Linked DNA regions of Homo sapiens: region 1 is linked to region 2. Evidence: promoter capture Hi-C in 16 types of primary human blood cells and fetal thymus (Javierre and others, 2016). All regions are on one chromosome and are shown on one strand. The core of a region is centred on a gene start or on the middle of the fragment in contact, and the rest is flanking DNA. Distances in the headings are between cores, read along the strand shown.

Region 1 (3,839 bases), core at 1,114-3,613, 560 kb before region 2:
TACCTCTCTGCTGTTCAGTCCCTCTTCATTTTCTTGACTCCAAAGGTGAGTGTATCTTAAGGCTCAACTCTTGCATCTCACCTTACACTTTATTTCTTGAGAAGTTTTGAGTTCAGACTTCTACGGGATGACTCCCAAACCCACAGCTTTAGCCTGGACCTTCCTCTTCATCTCCAGATCATTCTGCTTTATAGTTCTGCTTTCACTTAAAATGTGCTATAACCGCTTATCCATCACCTTTCTCCTTTTTTCCGATGACTTCCATTTCTATCAATGGCAGAACCATTTTCTTTGTTTCTAAGTCTTGGAGTCACAGTCACACACATTTTCAGTGATGAAAATGTTTCAGATGTTACTGACTTCAAGCTTTTGCTCATTATCCCATCTCCAATCATGCCAGCACATTTCATTCCTGAGCATATCGAACCATAGTAAGATATTTCTTTACTTGCAGCCTACCTGTTATCTGTATCTACCCCCACTCCCACTCTTTTCACGATCCTGGCATTGGAACCTCAGAGTCCACATTTGCTCCCCCTGAACGGAGGTATGTTCCCCAAGGCTGGGCCTCTCCTGTTCTTTCAGGCAGTCTTCAGGTCAATGTCCTTCAAAACGTGGTGCTCAGAACTAAACACAAAACTCCAGGACACTGGAGTGGGACAGTGGATGGACTGCACTTCCAACAAAACACTGTAGATCTCCGAATAAACGTAAGATGGCGCTATAAGCACGCACCCGGCCTAAAGCCCTGGTGAAAGCTCACCAGCAGTGGGGCTCAGTAGCTCTGCGAGGCGGGAATTAGTTCTCTTACTTGACATATTAGGAAATGTGAAATGTAGACAGATTAAAGCACTTGCTCAAGGTCAAACAACTAGGAAGTGGCAGAGCTAGAATTCTGCCTAACCCAGAGTCTGATTTCAGAGCCACTGTTCTTTTTACCACATTGTACTACATGTGAAATTGTATCAGGCCAGGTTTTCCTATCCCTCATCTTATTTACATCAAAGAGTCAGAGGGGATGGGGACCACAATCCCATTAGGGAGGTGCTTCTGAATCACTCCCAGGGGACACTTTCAAGCTCCACCCTCCTGCTATACCCAGTCACTGCTTACACAGACTCTGCATTCTCCCTGGCCCACTGTGCTCCAGCCACACTTCCCCGTCCTTAAACACACCAGATGCATGAACATCTCCGGGCCTTTTGCACCTGCTTTTCTTTCTGTCTGAATCTTCTCACCATTCAGGCATCAGCTCAAATATCACCCCCTCAATAAGACCTTCTCTGACTACGTCAGCCCCTCTGGCAAGTTGCTCTCTATCCCATTACCCTGTTTCATTTTCTTTTCAGCATTGTTGAACTTTCCAGCAATTAAAAGTTGTCCTTTTAATGTGTTTATTGTCCATTACTGCTCCTAAGAGCTCCAGAAAAGTGGGGATTTTATATTGTTCACTGCTGGATCCATAATGCCTGGAACAGAGGCTGGCACACAGTATGGAGTGAAAAACCATCTGTTAAATGAGGGAATCTCCACGGTCACTCTTGATTCAAGCCAGTCTCACTACAACCAGAAGCTTCTTACATACACCAACTAGCTTCTGAGATACAAATTTTATCTCCCAGAATAAAGTCTAATCTTCTCAGTGAGCTAGTTGCCCACACCTGCTACGAGCTAGGCTGCTCTCCCTTCAGACTTCCACACCTGCCCCCACTGACCCTACTCTTCCCAGTCCATCCCTGTCATGAAGCCCACTGCTTTTCCCATCAGGAATGTGTCCTTCCTTTCCGCCTATTTAAGTATCAGTTTTCAAGGCTGAGCTGACTCTGGCTATCGGATTAGGTCATCCCAACCACAGCATTATTATACCCCCTATACAAAGTATGTCTGAATTAGACTGCTTATTCCTACCCTTTTAAAACTCCTCTCTGCTAAGTTCCCAGGATACAGACTGAGGCAGAGGAATAAGATCAGGTAAGAAGGGGGCCCCTGTGGGGAATGGGTCTTAGTTCTACCCTCAGGGAATACACAGAATAAGTTTTCTCACTTTTCTATGTGACATTCATTAAGAAAACCAGAGACAGAGACCGTATTCACCCGAGTCAGTTTTTCTCTAGGTTAAATAGCCCCAGTCCCCCAGTTCCTCAGTTCCTTCTTAAGATGTGGTACCCAGAACTCAATGGAATACCACTGAGCACTCACTGGTTCGGAGGAGTGAGAGACTATCCACTCTTTCTTTCTGGAGTCTATGAATGAATCCAGTCATCTTAACTTTTTGGAAGCTCTACCAACTGCTGACTCAATCTGAGTTTGCAATCAAATATCCCAAATCAACTCAAGTGCAGGTTACATATCAAACTTCACATTGGTCTCTGCTTTATTAGTTTTGTTCTTTCAAGATTCAGTAAGATCCCTTTAAATCTTGATTCTGCTGCTCAGTATCTCAAAGAGCCGTCTCAGCTGCCTTTTTTATTTTTATTTTTTAATTTACTTTTTTCTGAGACAGAGTCTCACTTTGTCACCCATGCTGGAGTGCAGTGGCGTGATCTCAGCTTACTGCAACTTCCGCCTTCCAGGTTCAAGCGATTATTGTGCCTCAGCCTCCCGGGTAGATGGGACTACAGGCGTGCGCCACCATGCCTAGCTAATTTTTGTATTTTTAGTAGAGATGGGGTTTCTCCATGTTGGCCAGGCTGGTCTCGAACTCCTGGCCTCAAATGATTTCCCCACCTCAGCCTCCCAAAGTGCTGGGATTACAGGCATGAGCCACCACACCTGGCCTACTTTAATTTTTTTTAGAGACAGGATCTCACTTTTTGCCCAGGCTGGGATGCAGTGGTGCAATCATAGCTCACTGTGCCTCAAACTCCTGGGCTCAGGCGATCCTCCTGCCTCAGCCTCCCGAGTAGCTAGGACTACAGGCATGTGCCATCACTCCCAGCTGTTTTTAAATTTTTTTTTCTGTAGACACAGGGTCTCACTATATTGCCCAGGCTGGTCTCAAACCCCTGGCTTCAAGTGATCCTCCTGCCTCAGCCTCCCAAAGTGCTGGGATTATAGGTGTGAGCCACCATGCCCAGCCGACCTTCTCAGCTTCCTATACTGTCATTCCTAGATTGGATCAACCTGTCCCTTCTTTTGTCATTCAAAGCTTGATGAATTGTCATTCATTTTTGATTTAGAAAAAAGCTGTACAGAATCAAGAGAAGACTGGAGACTTATGGAACAGAGCAGCATGTTGATATGTCTTAATCTGATAGAGAAAACACATCTCTGACCAGGATATTTCTTGCCCTCAGAATGCCAGTCATAGTATCCCACGAGATGCACCCAGCAGACAGACACTGCAGTCTAAGGGAGTGGGTTCAAAGGACCCAGTCAATCCTTGCTGTTTCTGATCCTGCCCCTTCCCTAGAGATCTCCCTCCCATGCCCACCCCAAGGACAGCTCTTCAGTGTATGTTAGGAACATGAAGTCTTCTGATGGACTGTGATCTCCCTGACAGCACAGATATTATTTATGGTTTTAAAACATTTTCTTTTGTGAAGCCAACAGACCCAACCTAAGGCTACAGCACAGCTGTGAGCCTCTGCTATCCCTGCTTTACCTCCCTTTCCTTCTAAACCCTCTGAGATCTGGCTTCCACTCTCACTACTCCTGAATGTTGCCTTCAGGATTCTTCATTATCTTAGGTGATTTCTCTTTAGAACTCTTTTGGTTCAAACTTTTTTTAAACTTTCTCCTCCTTTGGTTCCTGTGACTTCACTCTCTCCTGGTTTTTCTTTTTTTTTGAGACGGACTCTCACTTTGTCACCCAGACTGGAGTGCAGTGGCATAATCTT
Region 2 (4,153 bases), core at 1,352-3,851:
ACCATTTCCTTAATACCTCTCCTAGCCTCACCCTACGCCCCCAGTCCACCCTGTGGTTTAGGATCCGGCCCATCATCAGACCCATATTCCTCTGAGTCCCTTTTAAGGTGGGTGCAGGAGCATTTGTTATAAGAGAAACGTACAACCCGAATTCTTCCATTCCAGTCTCCCTCTATCGGTGTGTCTGTGGTGGATATCAGGGGAAGGGGGACTTTCCTGTAGCTAGAGCTCTCTGGGGGATGGCCAGAAGCCATTCTCAGCCCTTCTGAGACTTGGCCAACCCCTGCCAAAGCCAGGAGAACCAGAGTCTTTCTAGCAATGTCCTAGGCTGGCAGCCACAGCTGAGACCTGCCTTTCTGCCTCTGACTGCTTCACAGCAGGGAGGTGTACAGGGTGTCCTTCCAGGAGTGAGGCCTGTAACCGGGTAAGGGGGAGGCGCCCAAGGCCCTAGGTGGGCAGGGACAATGGCCCTCACTGCTGCCCCCACAGGCCCTGCTGCAGGTGGCTGGGTTGACTCATGGTTCTGGGAGTCACCTTTCTCTGACGAAGAAAAGGCTCCACAAAGGCGGGTACTCCCCCATTGCCCCCCACCAGCATGTCACGTCTGTGGGGGAGATGGGGTGGGGGGTGGGGTTGGGAGAGGCAGAGAAGAAAGAGCACCTCGTTGGGGGGGGGGGCAACCGTTTTCGGAAATGGCAGCAAAAGCCGTCTGAGAGGGAGCGGGGGGGGGTGGTCTGCCATTTCTGCCTCAACCCACACCTTCTTTCCCCTGGGACTGGGAAAGAACCCTAGCACACCAAGAGGGTGCCCCTAGAGAACGAGAGCAGCTTCCAGGCAGAGGGCCAGTGGAACGGCTCACCAACCACCCACCTCCTTTTGGTGTCCCTGCATTACCTCCACACCCGGCCAGCTTCCTCCCTGGTACCCACCTGCTAGCTGCTCTAGGCCCATACATCTCTTGCCTCCGCAGACACAGGGCAAGCTCTTTCAGGATCTGCCTCCTTTTTCTCTTTCTGCTTTCCTCCCTCCTTCCCTTCCCCCCTACCCACAGGCCACGTGTTGGAATGACAAAGGAGCCCCATGGCATGGCACTGCCTTTGATGGAGAAGAATGAGGAGGATGTTAAGGTAGAGGCAGGAAGGAAAAATGGGGAGAAAATGGCGAGGGGGACTGTTGAGGTACAGGGAGGGGAGATGGCTGATACAGAAAATGAGGTACTGATGGAGGGGGATGAGTGACAGATGGAAATGGCTGAGGTGGAAAATGGGTTAATGATGGGTTGAAAGGGAGGAATGTGGAGAGTTGAAATAATGGAGGAAATGTCTGTGGAAAATGGATACCTGAAGGGTTTGAGAAAAGGAATGATAAGGGGTGCAATTCATTCAAATATGTGGGTGAGGCCGGAGGGGGGTTCCTGTATGTCACAGAGGGGATGAGGATGAGTTGGAGGAAGCAGGAAGGCAATGGAGGGGATGGCCGCGTGGAGGGTTTGACTGGGTATGGGTGTGAGTGCCCTTCTCCGGAGGGACTTACCGAAACTTTACAAACCCATTCAGCGTCCACGCTCGAAGTTTTAAGGGCTCCAGCTGAATTTTAAACATCAAGCTGGCTAAGAAGTCTTCTCCCCAGGAGTGTGGGAAGCTCCGGAAAGCTCCTCGGGCCTGCAGTGGGGGTGCTGCTGGGGGTGGGCAGGAGAGCACTGTGCGCTTAAACATGCCCAGCCAAGCCCCTCACCTCTGATCGCTCCACCGGAGCCGGCCTGAAGTGCTGCAGCTCTGGAAGCCACCTCCTTGGACTCTCAGAGGCGCGTGCCCAGCAAGGCCTGTCTGGCGCAGCAGGTGCCGGACCTGATCCCCAAATGTGGAGAGTGAAGGGAGAAGACCCGCGGCCACCTGCTCTCAGGTGCAGCAGTGTCTGGCTGGCTGTGAGCGGCTGTATGGCAGCGTGTCAGTGAGGCTGGGAGTGCAAGCGTGTGTTTGTGAGTGGCAGCGTGTATACCTGTGACAGGTGTGATTGTGAGGGCCCGAGAGGCAGTGAGCTCCTGTCGCCTCTCACTGGGGAGGACCCGACCCCAATCCCCAAGAACCTACTCAATGAAGTCACTGACGGGAGTCTCCTCCCTCGCAGATGGGCGGGGCAGAGCGGAGCTCGGCCGGGACAAAAGGCGCGGCGAGGAGAGGAGGGGAGGGGGCTCGGGCGGGGGAGGGTGGTCGGTGATGTCACCCGCGCTGGCTGGCTGGTCTGCTCACAGATGCCTCCGCCCCACAGAACCCAATCTGGTCCGGTCCGACTCGACCCTCCCCTCCCCTCCCCTCCCCGACTCAGACGCTGGCTGCCCCCTGTGACAGCCAAGCCCTGGTCTAGGACTCCGAGCACCCTGCAGACCCCGGGGCCCCGCATCCCCAAGGCAGCAGAGCCTACGGGCCCTCAGTGTCCCAACCCCCCAACACCAGGAGCCCTGGCTTCACGACGCCCCGCTCCCGGGACCCCCGAGTCCTGGCTTGGCGCCCTCACCGGTGAGGAGCTGCGGGCGCCGCCGTGGTCCGTGAGACAGCCGCTGCCCCCTCCCCCGGCTCCGGCTCCGCCGCCTCCACCCGGGACAGGAGTCGCCTGCCCGCCGGCCGCCGATAGCGGGACCGGGAGCCCGCCCCCACGGCTCCGCCTCCGCGCCGCCCATTGAACCGTCTTCCTGTCACTCAGCTCAGCCTCCACTGTGATTGGGCAGTTTTCAACAAGCGGCTTGGTGATAGCCGCCCATCCTCCGCCCCTGTCACCCGGCCACACGCGCACACATTCCAGGCAGTGATTGGTGTGGATCTGATTGGCGCCCTCTGGGATCACTCAACCACGCCTCTTTGCCATCTTGTCGTGCCATTGGTGAAAAAGACAGAGGGCGGCAACCTCGCTCGCCCTTTGATTTTATTGGTTCGTGCCTGAGACTCAGACCCGAGCCCGGGGGCAAACTATATTAGTCCAATCTCCGGGTTGAGAAGGTGGGACGTACTGGCCACTGCTCGAATCCCAGGAGAACCTTCTGGAACCCTTGCGACGTCAAAGGCAGCCTTAAAGGAAAACTGTACCCACCAGTTGGCCGTGCGGCCGTGCATTCTTTCCTTTCTTCATTGGGGGGCAAGAGGGAGAGAACAGTGCACTCTGGGAGGTGTAGTCCCTGGACCGGGGCCAAAAGGTCAGCACTTCTTACTCGCCTTTCAGCCAACGGTGTAACCACCTCAAGCTGACCTCATTTAGCTTTACCTTATCCTGACCCCGCGGTGGCCTGATGTGACCTAACGGAATCTCTAACAGACCCCACGGATGCCGGGTTTCAGAGCCCCCCGGACCTCTCCCCCGAGGGAAACGGATGGCTCTGCCCAGGCCGGTGCCTCCAGGAATCTCCCCCGCCCACCCTCTGTACAGCCCCTCATCCTCGCGCCCCTCTTCAGCGACCCCGCGGTCTCCATTTCAGTCCCTCTTCTAATCAGTCTCTCATCCTGCTTCCCCCTGGAGTGCCTGTGTTTTAGCCCTTTCCTTCTTGGCCCTAGATGATCTCCTGTCTTCCTTCCCGCAGTGATCCCTTTTGTCTTATTCTTGGTTCTTTCTTTACACCCCGATCTCCTATCCTAGCTCTCCCCTTTCATCTTTCATCTCACTCCCCAAGATCCCCTTCCTTAACACCCTCAGAATCTCTAGTCTCCCCCACCCCCCATTAAGTCATTAGATCTCAGCCCCAGTGTCCCCGATGCAGGGAGCAGGCGGGGCTGCGGAGGCGGTCGCCAGCGGAAGCCGCCACTCCAGCAGACACGGTGCCTGGCGCCCACGTCACTGTCTCCCAGGCCCATCTGTGCTCGAGGGAGCGGGGGTGGGGAGGGAGTAATTTGGGGGTGAAGTGGGGGAGGGGAGTGCTGGGGGGTTGATGATGATAGAAGGGTCAGGCCGGAAGCTCCCCTTTACTTCTTTCTTTCCTATTTTCCAGAGACAGAGTTTGGACACCCATGAGGTCTTGCTAGAAACTGCAGCTTGAGTACCTGGGCCAAGAGCAGAGCAAGGCGGGGGGGGGGTGCCAGGGTCCTGGAGTCATGTCTGTAGATTCTTCACTACCTACCTTCATGCCAGGAGTCACTATGGGGCTCCCAAGGGTAAAGGGGCATGAGGT

The links. The method cuts DNA at HindIII sites, captures the fragments that hold promoters and counts their contacts. A CHiCAGO score of 5 or more calls a contact.
Region 1: a contact is called between a fragment that was not itself captured here and the fragment with the promoter of DNAJB5 in region 2, in 1 of 17 cell types (erythroblasts). The highest score is 5.0, in erythroblasts.

Annotation. Positions count from the first base shown.
Region 1 is chr9:35,551,018-35,554,856 of GRCh38, reverse strand. The region is part of intron 2 of RUSC2 (RUN and SH3 domain containing 2); the gene reads right to left. Among named protein-coding and RNA genes, the nearest start is that of CIMIP2B, 11 kb to the left of the region's middle. The HindIII fragment of the contact is 1,575 bases long and covers 1,576-3,150 here.
Region 2 is chr9:34,988,193-34,992,345 of GRCh38, reverse strand. It overlaps DNAJB5 (DnaJ heat shock protein family (Hsp40) member B5), which reads right to left and starts at 2,601. Exons shown (of 5, transcript NM_001349723.3): 1 at 2,515-2,601; 2 at 1,534-1,847. The coding sequence starts at 1,715. It overlaps DNAJB5-DT (DNAJB5 divergent transcript), which reads left to right and starts at 2,967. Exons shown (of 2, transcript NR_109756.1): 1 at 2,967-3,187. RefSeq lists enhancers at 557-1,486, 1,487-2,416, 2,971-3,180 and silencers at 2,698-2,846, 2,361-2,860. The HindIII fragment of the contact is 19,763 bases long and covers 1-4,153 here.